Regions from separate parts of the Homo sapiens genome. Here region 2 is linked to region 1. The links are contacts of gene promoters, found by promoter capture Hi-C in human tissues and cell types (Jung and others, 2019). All regions are on one chromosome and are shown on one strand. The core of a region is centred on a gene start or on the middle of the fragment in contact, and the rest is flanking DNA. Distances in the headings are between cores, read along the strand shown.

What was found. The method cuts DNA at HindIII sites, captures the fragments that hold promoters and counts their contacts. A contact is called where the count stands out against the background at its distance.
Region 2: a contact is called between a fragment that was not itself captured here and the fragment with the promoter of TSPAN2 in region 1, in 1 of the 25 tissues and cell types used here (aorta).

Annotation. Positions count from the first base shown.
Region 1 is chr1:115,085,996-115,091,327 of GRCh38, reverse strand. TSPAN2 (tetraspanin 2) reads left to right here and starts at 1,825. Exons shown (of 8, transcript NM_005725.6): 1 at 1,825-1,964. The coding sequence starts at 1,896. The HindIII fragment of the contact is 11,658 bases long and covers 1-5,332 here.
Region 2 is chr1:115,123,549-115,128,704 of GRCh38, reverse strand. No RefSeq gene overlaps it. Among named protein-coding and RNA genes, the nearest start is that of LINC01765, 26 kb to the right of the region's middle. The HindIII fragment of the contact is 5,608 bases long and covers 1-5,031 here.

The DNA.
Region 1 (5,332 bases), core at 576-3,075:
GTCTTAGAGATGTAAAATTCAACGATATATTTAAAGTATAATATCATTGTTCATTCAGTTGATTTACTGAACGCCTTCTATGTACCAGACACTACTCTTTAACTTAGTTCTTTTCCTTTATACTAAAACAGAGGTGACAGATATAGAACTATAAGTGTTTGATTGAAGCTAATGATTCACTTCTCTCTGCATACCTAATGACTTCCATCTTTGTCTTTATTTCATTGTTGGAGACATGTTTATTACTAGAATCAGCACTTTCATTTTTCTGTCTTTGACTCGTTTTTATAAATGAGTCGATATTCAAACAAATGTCCAAAGACACAGAGGTAGGCAAAGATGGCAACATGGTAGAAACTGAATGGTTGACTGATAAGAGTGTGATACAATAATACTAACCCTTATGCAGTACTTAATCTGTGCCAGGCACTGTTCTAGGCACTTCACAAATACTAACTCATTTATCTTCACAACTCTATGAGGGGAGTACTATTACCTCCATGTTGCACGTGGGGACACTCGGGGCCAATGACAGTTTGGCACATTGGTCAGCCGACTGAAAGCTGTGATTTGGCTCCTGCCTTCCTGACTCACTCTGCCCCCACCAGGCTTCACTCGGGCTAACTGCGGTTCTCAGAACTCCCTTGGAGGCCTTGTTCTCTCCAGCTCTGTGCTTTTGCGCATGCTGTCTTCCTGGACTGATCTTTTCCGCCTGGGCTCCGTCTTCTAGACCAGATCAGGCCCCTCTCCTTAGCAATGCCTTTTCTGGTTAAGGCAGTCAGGCCAGGCACACCTGTCTAGCACCCAGCCCTTCTCTCCTCACCCTATTTGCTTACAGATCTGTCTCCAACACCAGAGACTGTGGTTCTGGGCCTGGCTGTCTCCTCATTGTTGAGTCCCTGGGGCTTGCTACTATGTCTGGCCTATAATAGGCACTCAAAGTTTTGCTGAATTTATGCATAAGCTCTCCGAATTTTGCTTTCTTGTCTCCCCCATACTGTCTGACACCACATATTGTAGACACTTAGTCAATGGAAGTGGGAGTCTGATTTTCCTGCCAACAGCCTAACTTAATAAAAACAAAGCAAAACAAAAACCGCCCCCTTCCCCTTTCTCCCATCTCCACATCATAATTAAGATCCCGAAAATTTGGGATCCTTCCAAGCCCTCCGATCAGTGGAACCCGGCAGGACATGAGAAGTCAGACTCCCTCCACTGGCCGGCTGGGTTGAGGGCAGCCCACAGGACTCAGGGCGCCGCCTCCCGCACCCTCTCTCAGTTCTTGCCTATTAAGGTAAGAGTCCCCCGAGGAGGGGGGAGGGGCCGGAGGGAGGGTCCCCTAGAAGCTGCTTGTGTGCTTGCTCCGCGCCGCGGAGCCGCAGCCCTGGACACTCAGTCAGGTGCCCCGCGACTGGTCCTGCCAGCTTCGGGGCAACCTCCGACCCCACTTAGCTCTTCTACCCGAGGTCACCTTCCTAGATTTCCATAGCCACGAGACCAAGTGCTTATCCCTCAAGCATCGCCCGGGCCTCAAACCGGTCTCCGCACAGGGCGCTGATTAAATGGGTCCCCAGTCCCCGGTGGGCGCTCCCGCCCTGCAGGTGCTCCGATAGCCGGCGGCGGTGCGCCCACTGGAGGGAAGGAAGGTGGTCCCTGGGTCCGGGAGAAGAGCGAACGTGCTCCCTCGGGCTGCTCGATCTCCACCCGCTGGCGCCCCCACCCGTCGCCAGCCACGCCGCTTGGGGTCCACGCGCCCCTCCCCGCCGGGCCCCGCCCCGCCCCCCGGAGGCCCCGCCCCGGTCCTCCCCGCTCCGCCCCCTCCCCGCCGGAGCCTGCCGCTCCCCGCGCTCGTAGCGCGGGCCTGGGGACTGGGGATCCCGCCGCCGGGCCGCAGCATGGGGCGCTTCCGCGGGGGCCTGCGGTGCATCAAGTACCTGCTGCTTGGCTTCAACCTGCTCTTCTGGGTGAGACCAGGAGCCGGGAGGGCCGGTCAGGGCAGGGGGCCGGGTGGCGGGCGCGGGGCCGGGGTCCCCGAGCTGCTGACTGCGGCGTCCGAGTCGCGCTCGTGGGGAGGGCTGGGTGCTCAAACGCGGAGGCGAGGAGAAGGCAAACAAAGAGGGAGGGGAGGGATGGAAGGGAGAGAACGGGAAGACAGAAGGTTGATCAATGAGAAATGGTGAGAAGGGGAGAGACACCGTGTGGCTCTTTCCTGGAAGGAACCCCCACCTGCCTTGGTTTTTATCTCCCAGCTAGTGACCCCAGGTGCGGGGACCCAGCCTCTCCTCACCTCCGGAGGACTTGGGTCCCTGTTCCCCTCCAGTCTCCCGTGCACACACCCCCTTTTCACTCTGCCTACCAGCTGGAACCAGGGCCTGGCCAGGGTGATGGGAGAGAAACCCCTGCCCTGGGGCTGCCTGGGGTGGTGCTCCATTCGAGTGTGTGGACACTGTACCTGGCTGTGATGGTTTTGTTTAGGAAATTGGAGATAGGAGTGAAAATTGTGGTGGGGGGGCGTCGTCCTTTTTCTGGGCATCAGGGTAAGAGTACCCCTGGGTGAGAGGAGGTGGTGGGTTCTCTTCTGAGAAGGGGATGGGGAATGGAAGGGCTTCTAAAGGGCAGCAGCAGCTCTCCACAACCCCCAGCCGCAGCCTCTGCTAAATACTAATTCTCCCAGAGATGATCTCATTCAACTTTGCAGGGTTTGATTGAACTGACAGCGTTCCCAGGATTCATGGTTCACAGAGAGATAGGATCTTGACCCTTGTCTCCTATATTATCGAGACAGGGATACAGCTAGACCAGACCTACATCCCTGGATACCCTGTCCCAGGGCCTGCAGGACTGTGAGACAAGGTCTGAAAATTGTCTTTTCTGCACATTTCCTCTTGGGCTTTCTTAAGAGAATGTCAGCCAGTGTAACTGCTCAGCTAGACCCTGAGGGGAAACATTGGATAAAGAGGTTTGAGAGCAGCCAGGGCCTGGGTGCTTTGAAACTACCAGGTTGGAGGAGGTGGCTGTCCTATCTGCTCTGGGGGACGTTGTCTTCCCATGATTGCAACTAATTAATTATTGAATGATGGGCTCCTCTTTTGTCTGTCAATCCATTAGCCCAGATGCCTGGGTGACTTCAGCAACTCCAAGCTCTTCAGTATCCTTCAGCAGTGGAAGGTGTGAAGGAGGTACCTCCTCGACATCCCCTGAACTTTAAAGAGACACATGGCCTTTGTACACGTGGGGATTTACATCAAGCATACTATAGGGAGAGGCGTTTCTGAAGACCCTTTATGTTGTATTTTTTAGGAATCTGGCTTAATTTCAGAAGCTGTTAATTATAGATGTCACGCCACAGTGACAACCTTCATTCTCACTGCTTATGAATTCAAAGCCTTATGAAGTTTTAAGCCTGAGGAGGAATTCTTAAGCTGGGTTCAGTGCTTATTTAGTGGCTGATATTGTACCAGCCTTTCCAGTGATAGCTGGAAGGATTCATTGAATGTTTTCAATGTGTCAGGGACAGTGCTAAGCATATTACTTTCATTATTACACATAATCCTCACAAGAGTCCTGATATACATATACTATTATTATCCCCATTTTTTACAGATGAGGAAACAGGCTCAAATTGGTTAAGTCACCTAAGATCACACAGCTAGTGAGTGGCAGGGATGGTATTCAAACTCAGCCTACCTTCTCTTTTTTTTTTTTTTTTTTTGAGACGGAGTCTCACTCTGTAGCCCAGGCTGGAGTGCAGTGGCCCGATCTCCACTCACTGCAAGCTCCACCTCCCAGATGCACGCCATTCTCCTGCCTCAGCCGCCCAAATAGCTGGGACTACAAGCACCCTCCGCCACGTCTGGCTAGTTTTTTTGTATTTTTAGTACAGACGGGATTTTACCGTGTTAGCCAGGATGGTCTCCATCTTCTGACCTCATGATCTGCCTGCCTCAGCCTCCCAAAGTGCTGAGATTACAGGCGTGAGCCACCGCGCCTGGCCGCCTACCTTCTCTTAAGCACTGTGGTACATTCAATTAACCAGTGGTTCTCAAAAGTGGTTCCTGGGCCAGCAGCATCAGCATATCCTGGGAATTTGTCAGAAATACAAATTCTCAGGCCGGGCACAGTGGCTCATGCCTGTAATCCCAGCACTTTAGGAGGCCAAGGCAGGCGGATCACCTGAGGTCAGGAGTTCGAGACCAGCCTGGCCAACATGATGAAACCTCATCTCTACTAAAGTACAAAAATTAGCCGGGCATGGTGGTGGGTGCCTGTAATCCCAGCTACTTGGGAGGCTGAAGCAGAAGAATCTCTTGAACCCGGGAGGCAGAGGTTGCAGTGAGCTGAGATGGTGCCACATTGCACTCCAGCCTGGGCAACAAGAGCGAAACTCCATCTCAAAAACAAACAAACAAACAAACAAAATTCTCAGCTCATCCCAGACTTGCTGAATCAGAAACTCTGGGGGTAGGATCCAGCAATCTAATTTAACAAGCCATTCACATAATTCTGATCCATGCTCAAATTTGAGACCCATTCTGTTAAACAATGATTAAACAAATAATAATTTATAAATATAAACACAGTTCCCTAAGCTGCTCATCTCATTGAGGAAACGAGACCAGTGGATATGGAACAACACAAAAATAAGACAGTGTGGAATCAAGTGACAAGTTTCACACTGTTGACCGTAAGCACAGTAAGGAAAGGAAGTAGGAGCAGTGCAGTTTTAAGTGCTTGAATGTGTTAACCAGTGAGGTTAGATCCGACCTTCTCTATATGTGATCTAAGTAAGGAGTTTAGAGAAAGGATCACAGTCATGATGAGGAGCCAGAAAAGTTCTCCTTAAGAAGGAGCTATTCGAGCTAAACCTGGAAGGACTGGTAGAATGGAGCTGGGCAAAGCGAGGGGGTGACGCACCATCCACCAGCAGAGGAGCAGAGCAAGGGGGAGTGTGCGCCACCATCTGACTGTCGAAGCCATCAGGCTGGAGTGCAGAGATCCCAAGCAGGGCGTGCCTGCACAAACAGGGTGTACTTGAGCAAGTTATTGTTACTTCTAGGCTTGTTTTCTCATCTGTGCTATTGGAGTAACAGAAATATTGAGAGGATTAAGAGGGAATATATAAAGTATGTGACCTCAACTTCCTATGAGCCTAGGACATAGTAAATGCTCAAAAATATTAATTATTATTTTTGTTATCGGCACATAGGAAGCATTCAATAAATGTTAGCTCTCTTTCTCCTGATTCCTTTCTTGGTGGGGAATAGTATATAAGTTTGCCAAGTGACTTGCCATTTGTCTTCATTTGAGGATAACTACACCTTATCTTGTCAAT
Region 2 (5,156 bases), core at 978-3,477, 37 kb before region 1:
ACCACTTACTCAGAGGCTGTAGGAGGATTCACTGAAATAACGCGTGTAAAAAGTGCTTGTGGCCGTGCCTGAGACAAAGCTGGTGATTTATTGTATGTATGAACAGGTGGAGCTATCTGAGGCCTGTAACCTACCCATCCCCTCATCTCAGATTTATGACTTCCTGAAGGCAGAAGGAAGATGGGTACAAGAGAGGCACAGCAGGACAATCTCTCCTCAGCCTGAGTGGCACAGGACAGCTGCTTTGTGTGGGTACGTCCTACAGGGGAAGGAGAGGTGTTGGCGCTAGTCTCTGCCTTGGAGAACTCAGAGAAAATGGAATCTTCAGAGAGCTCACATGTGGCTCAAAAGCAGATTTCCAAAGTGACAACCTAAACCCATGTCCCAGACACGACCTGTCTTCCTGCTGGACTAATTCTTCTGAAACAAGAGCTTCTTTCTGTCCTCCCATCCCACACCCCACATCACTAATGTACATTTCTTCCTGAAAAATCTTGGATCAAAACTACCATATGATACTGTATATCTCTTAGATGGCAGTTGACAAAACAATAGGTGCAGCATAATTCTAACTATGCTATAATGCAAATACTTATCAATGATTGGAAGACTATATTCTGAGGTTAACAGTGACTATCTGTTGTTTGCAGGGTGTGGCATTAGAGGTGATTTTTATTTTCCGCTTGGTGCTTTTCTGTGTTTTCCAAATGAGCATACGGAAGTTTCATAATCACAAAATAGAATTTTTAAAATGCCATCACTGGCTTTTCAAAATATACATATCATGCACTTTTCTGATTAAATATGTTTTATTGTTTTTCATGGTTATATAGAATAAAATTCAAACTCTCTTCCATGGCCTACAAGGCTGGACATGACGCAGACCTTCCACACAGCTCCAGCCTGATCTGCCATTCTTGCCATCACCCACCAGCTCCAGCCACAATGGCCTCCTCCTAGATGTGAGCCACAGCTCTACTACTTAGCTGTGTGACCTTGGGCACATTACTTAACCTCTCTGTGCCCTAGATTCCAATTCTGAAAGAAAAAAAGAGACTTAATGATGGTATTTACTTCACAGGATTGTTGTGAGGATTCATTCTAAGAATGCCTGGCTTATAGCAAGCACTGTGTTTTTATTATTATCATTTTCTCCTTCACAGCTTTGCACATGCTGTTCCCTGTGCCGAGCATGAACTTAATAACATTTCTCACCTGGCTGACTTTTTCCCCATCTTGGTTTTGGCTTAAGTATCCCTTGCTCAGAGAGTCCTTCCTGACTGCCCACTCTTAACTCTGCCCATCCCATTATTTTCCCATAGCATCATATTCTTTTCCTTCCAAGCACTTATCAGAATTTATAATTACACATTTACATGTTGGATAATTTGGTTTAATGTTTGCCTCTGCACTAGACTATAAGCTTCATGAGTACCATGGAGGTTTGCCCAACTATGAATAGCCTGGACTCAGAAGAACCTAGCACACAAAAGGTGCTTAATAGGTGTTGGTTTAAAGACTGAATAAAGTAAATAAATGAATGAATGCATTTGGGCTACTCAGATGGATTTCAAATGCTCACTTTTCTTTTTAGAAACTCTTGAGCACTTAGGTGTTCACTTTTAAATCTGCATGTTGAACCATGGCTATGTAGAGCTATTCTGCAGACAGGGTGTGTATGCATTCTTCTTAACCTTGTGATGGGAAGCAACAGAAACCCAGCTTTCTCTTTAGGCCAGGACAAAAGAGAAAGCAACCAAAGGGAGTACAAGAATGTAGCTGAATTCAACTGGACCAGCTCACCATTGTCTTCCTGCCCTGGCTTTTCTCTGCCTGCTGCCTCATTCCCTTCTGCTGACTGACCATCTCCTTGGGAAGTTACCTGGTGGCCAAGGACTGCAGAGCCTCACGGCTTTTGGCTTCCAGTGCCAGAGAGAGGCTGAATCCCTTTTCTCAATTCCAGCTTGGACAAATTTTGAGAAATAATTAATATGCCTAACTTGGTCAGATGGCCATCCCTATGACCATGAGGTCAGGGCATTCTCTGAAAGCACAGACCATGAAGCACAGACAGGGTCACCTGGAACCCACCTCTGCTGGTCCCAGAAGAGAAAGAATGGTTACGAGCCAAGCAGCACTCCAGTGCAATCTACTGTGGTAAGGCATTAATCTCTCTGAAGACAGCCCTTGTATCTCTGGAACACTCCCAGGAAGTGGCTCCAGGGTGCCCCCAAAATGCCATTGACTATTTCATTGATTAAAACTATTATTTGTCCTCTTTTAATTTCTGTATTTATTTTTCCTTTTGTGTATTTATTTTCTATTACTTGTTACTTTCAGATAATATATTAAATTATATTATAATAAGCATCTGTGAACCACCGGCAGTGTGGCCATATTGCACAGTTCTAGGAGTCCCACTCACATTGTAATTCATAATGGTTCCTGGAGTTATTCGAATCCCAGCCTGTACAGTGATACTAGATGACCTTGCTCACCACCCATTCCAGAACTAGACCGCTAATCAAAACACACATGTACTCCTTCCCATCCTCTCCTTCTGCCTCTTCTCTCCTAAAGAGCTAACCACAACCTTCTTTTTAAATATAGTTTACATATATATGCCTGCTGTGGCAGACGGTATTTTCCAAAGATGACCTCAACAATATTTCCCACTTATAAGCTCATCTTGCCAAATGACTTTAATACTTCTCACATTAAAGTAAAGGGTCTATGTCTTCTCCTTGAATCTGTGCAGGCCTTTGTGACTGCCTCTATCAGTATGAAGGAGCTTATGTTGTGTCATCTCCAAGGCTAAGTCAAAAAATGCTGTGCACTTTTATCTTGCTTTCCTGGGGTGCTCCCTCTAAGGGAAGGAGGCAGACATTTAAGCAGTCTACCTACTTATTCAATCTCCTTACTTGCTATCTTTAGTTAGCTTGGGCTGCTATAACAAAAATGCCATAGGTGGTATGGCTTAAATAACAAACATTTCTCACACTTCTGGGGACTGGGAAGTCTAAGATCAAGTGCCAGCTGATTTGGTTCCTGGTGAAGACCCTCTTTCTAGTTGGCAGATAGATCCCTTCTTGTATATTCACATGATGTGGCAGAAAGTGAGTGTTGGTCCCTTCATCTCCTTATAAGAGTACTAATATCATCTTAGGGGCTCCATGCTCATGACCTCACCCAAACCTAATACCTCCCAAAGGTCCTACCTCCAAATGTCAACACACTGGGGTTTAGGGCTTCAACATACAAATTTGGGGAGAATACAAACATTCAGTCCTTAACACTTGCTATAGGTTTATTTAGATTCTGTATTTATTGTTGAGTCATTTCAGTAGTTTGTGTCTTTCTAGGAATTTTCCCATTTCATTTAGTTATCTGATTTGTTGGCATATAATTGTTTAAAGTATTCCCTTAAAATCCTTTTTATTTGTGTAAGGTCAGTGGTGATGTCCCCTCTTTCATTCCTGAGTTTAGAAACTTGGCTCTTCCCTTTTTTTCTTGGTCAGTGTAGCTAAAAATTTACCTATGTAGTAACCTTCAACAATGCTCTTCATTTCTTTACATGGAGTCAAGCTATTGCAAGAGTTCTTTCATTTCAACCTGAAAGAACTCCTGAAAGAACTCCTGTTAGTATTTCTCATAGAGAAGTTATTCTAGTTATTTTTCATTAATTTTTTTGTTTATCTTGAAATGTTTACATTTCTCCCTTTTTTTTTTTTTTTTTTTTGTTGTTGTTGTTGAGACAGAGTCTTGCTCTGTGACCAGGCTGGAGTGTAGTGGCACTATCTCAGCTCACTGCAACCTCCACCTCCTGTGTTCAAGCAATTCTCCTGCCTCAGCCTCCTGGGTAGCTGGGACTACAGGTGCACACCACCACATCTGGCTAATTTTTTTGTTTTTAGTACAGACGGGGTTTCACCATGTTGGCCAGGATGGTCTCAATCTCTTGACCTCATGATCCACCCACCTCTGCCTCCCAAAGTGCTGGGATTACAGGCGTGAGCCACTGTGCCCAACCTCTCCTTCATTTTTGAAGGATAGTTTTGCTTAATATAAAATTCATGATTGACAGCCTCATTCTTTCAGGATTTTCAATTTGTCATCTCACTGCCTTCCGATATGAAGCTAGCTATTAGTCTCATTAATGAGCCCTTGCATGATTAGTTGTTTTTCTGTTACAACTTTTAATCTCTCTTTGTCTTTGACTTTTAGCAATTTGATGATAATGCATGTAGATGTCTTTGAGTTTATCCTACTTCAAGCTTATTGAGTTTCTTGGATGGGAAGATTATTTTTCATCAGCTTTTGGAAGTCTTTATCTATTATTTCTTTAAATATTCTTTCTGTTCCTTTCTCTCTCCTCTCTCTCTGTGAGTCCCATTATGCACATGTTGGTGTGTTTGATGGAAACCCACACATCTCTGAGGTACAGTTCTTTTTTCTTTCTATTACTTAGATTGAATAATCTCAACCTACCTTCAAGTTTGCTGATTTTTTTCTTTTGCTGGCTCATATTTGCTGGTGAGACTCTCTAGTGATTTTTAATTTCAGTTTTTGTACTTTTCAACTTCAGAATTTCTATTTGTTTATTTTTATAATTTGTGACTCATTGATAGTTTCTATTTGTGAGACATCATTGCAATATTTTTAAACAATTAATTTTTAGACATAATTTTTAGATATAATTTTCTTTAATTATGTTCTTTGAATATATTTATAATAGTTGATTTAAATTCTCTGTCTGATAAATTCAACATATGGGCTTCCTCTGGGAGAGTTTCTGTCAACTGTGTTTCCTTGTGTAGGGGCCATACTGACATGTTTCTTTGCATAGCTTTTAATTTTTTATTTAAAACTGGACATTTTAAGTAATAAAATGTGGCAACTCTGAAAATGAGATACTCCTTCCCTCCCACCCATCCTTCTTAAGTTTGTTATTTTTGCTGTTGTTTACTTAGTGAACTAAGTGCTGCTGTTTGTTTCCTAGAATAATTCTGTCAAGTCTATCATCTTTGTCATGTGCAGCCTGTATTCAACTAGCTTGGTGATTGGCTAGTAATTGGAGAGTGGTTTATTTAAATGCCTTGAAGCAATTAATCTCCCATCCTATGCCATGGGTTCTATATTTGTTGGGACATATCTTC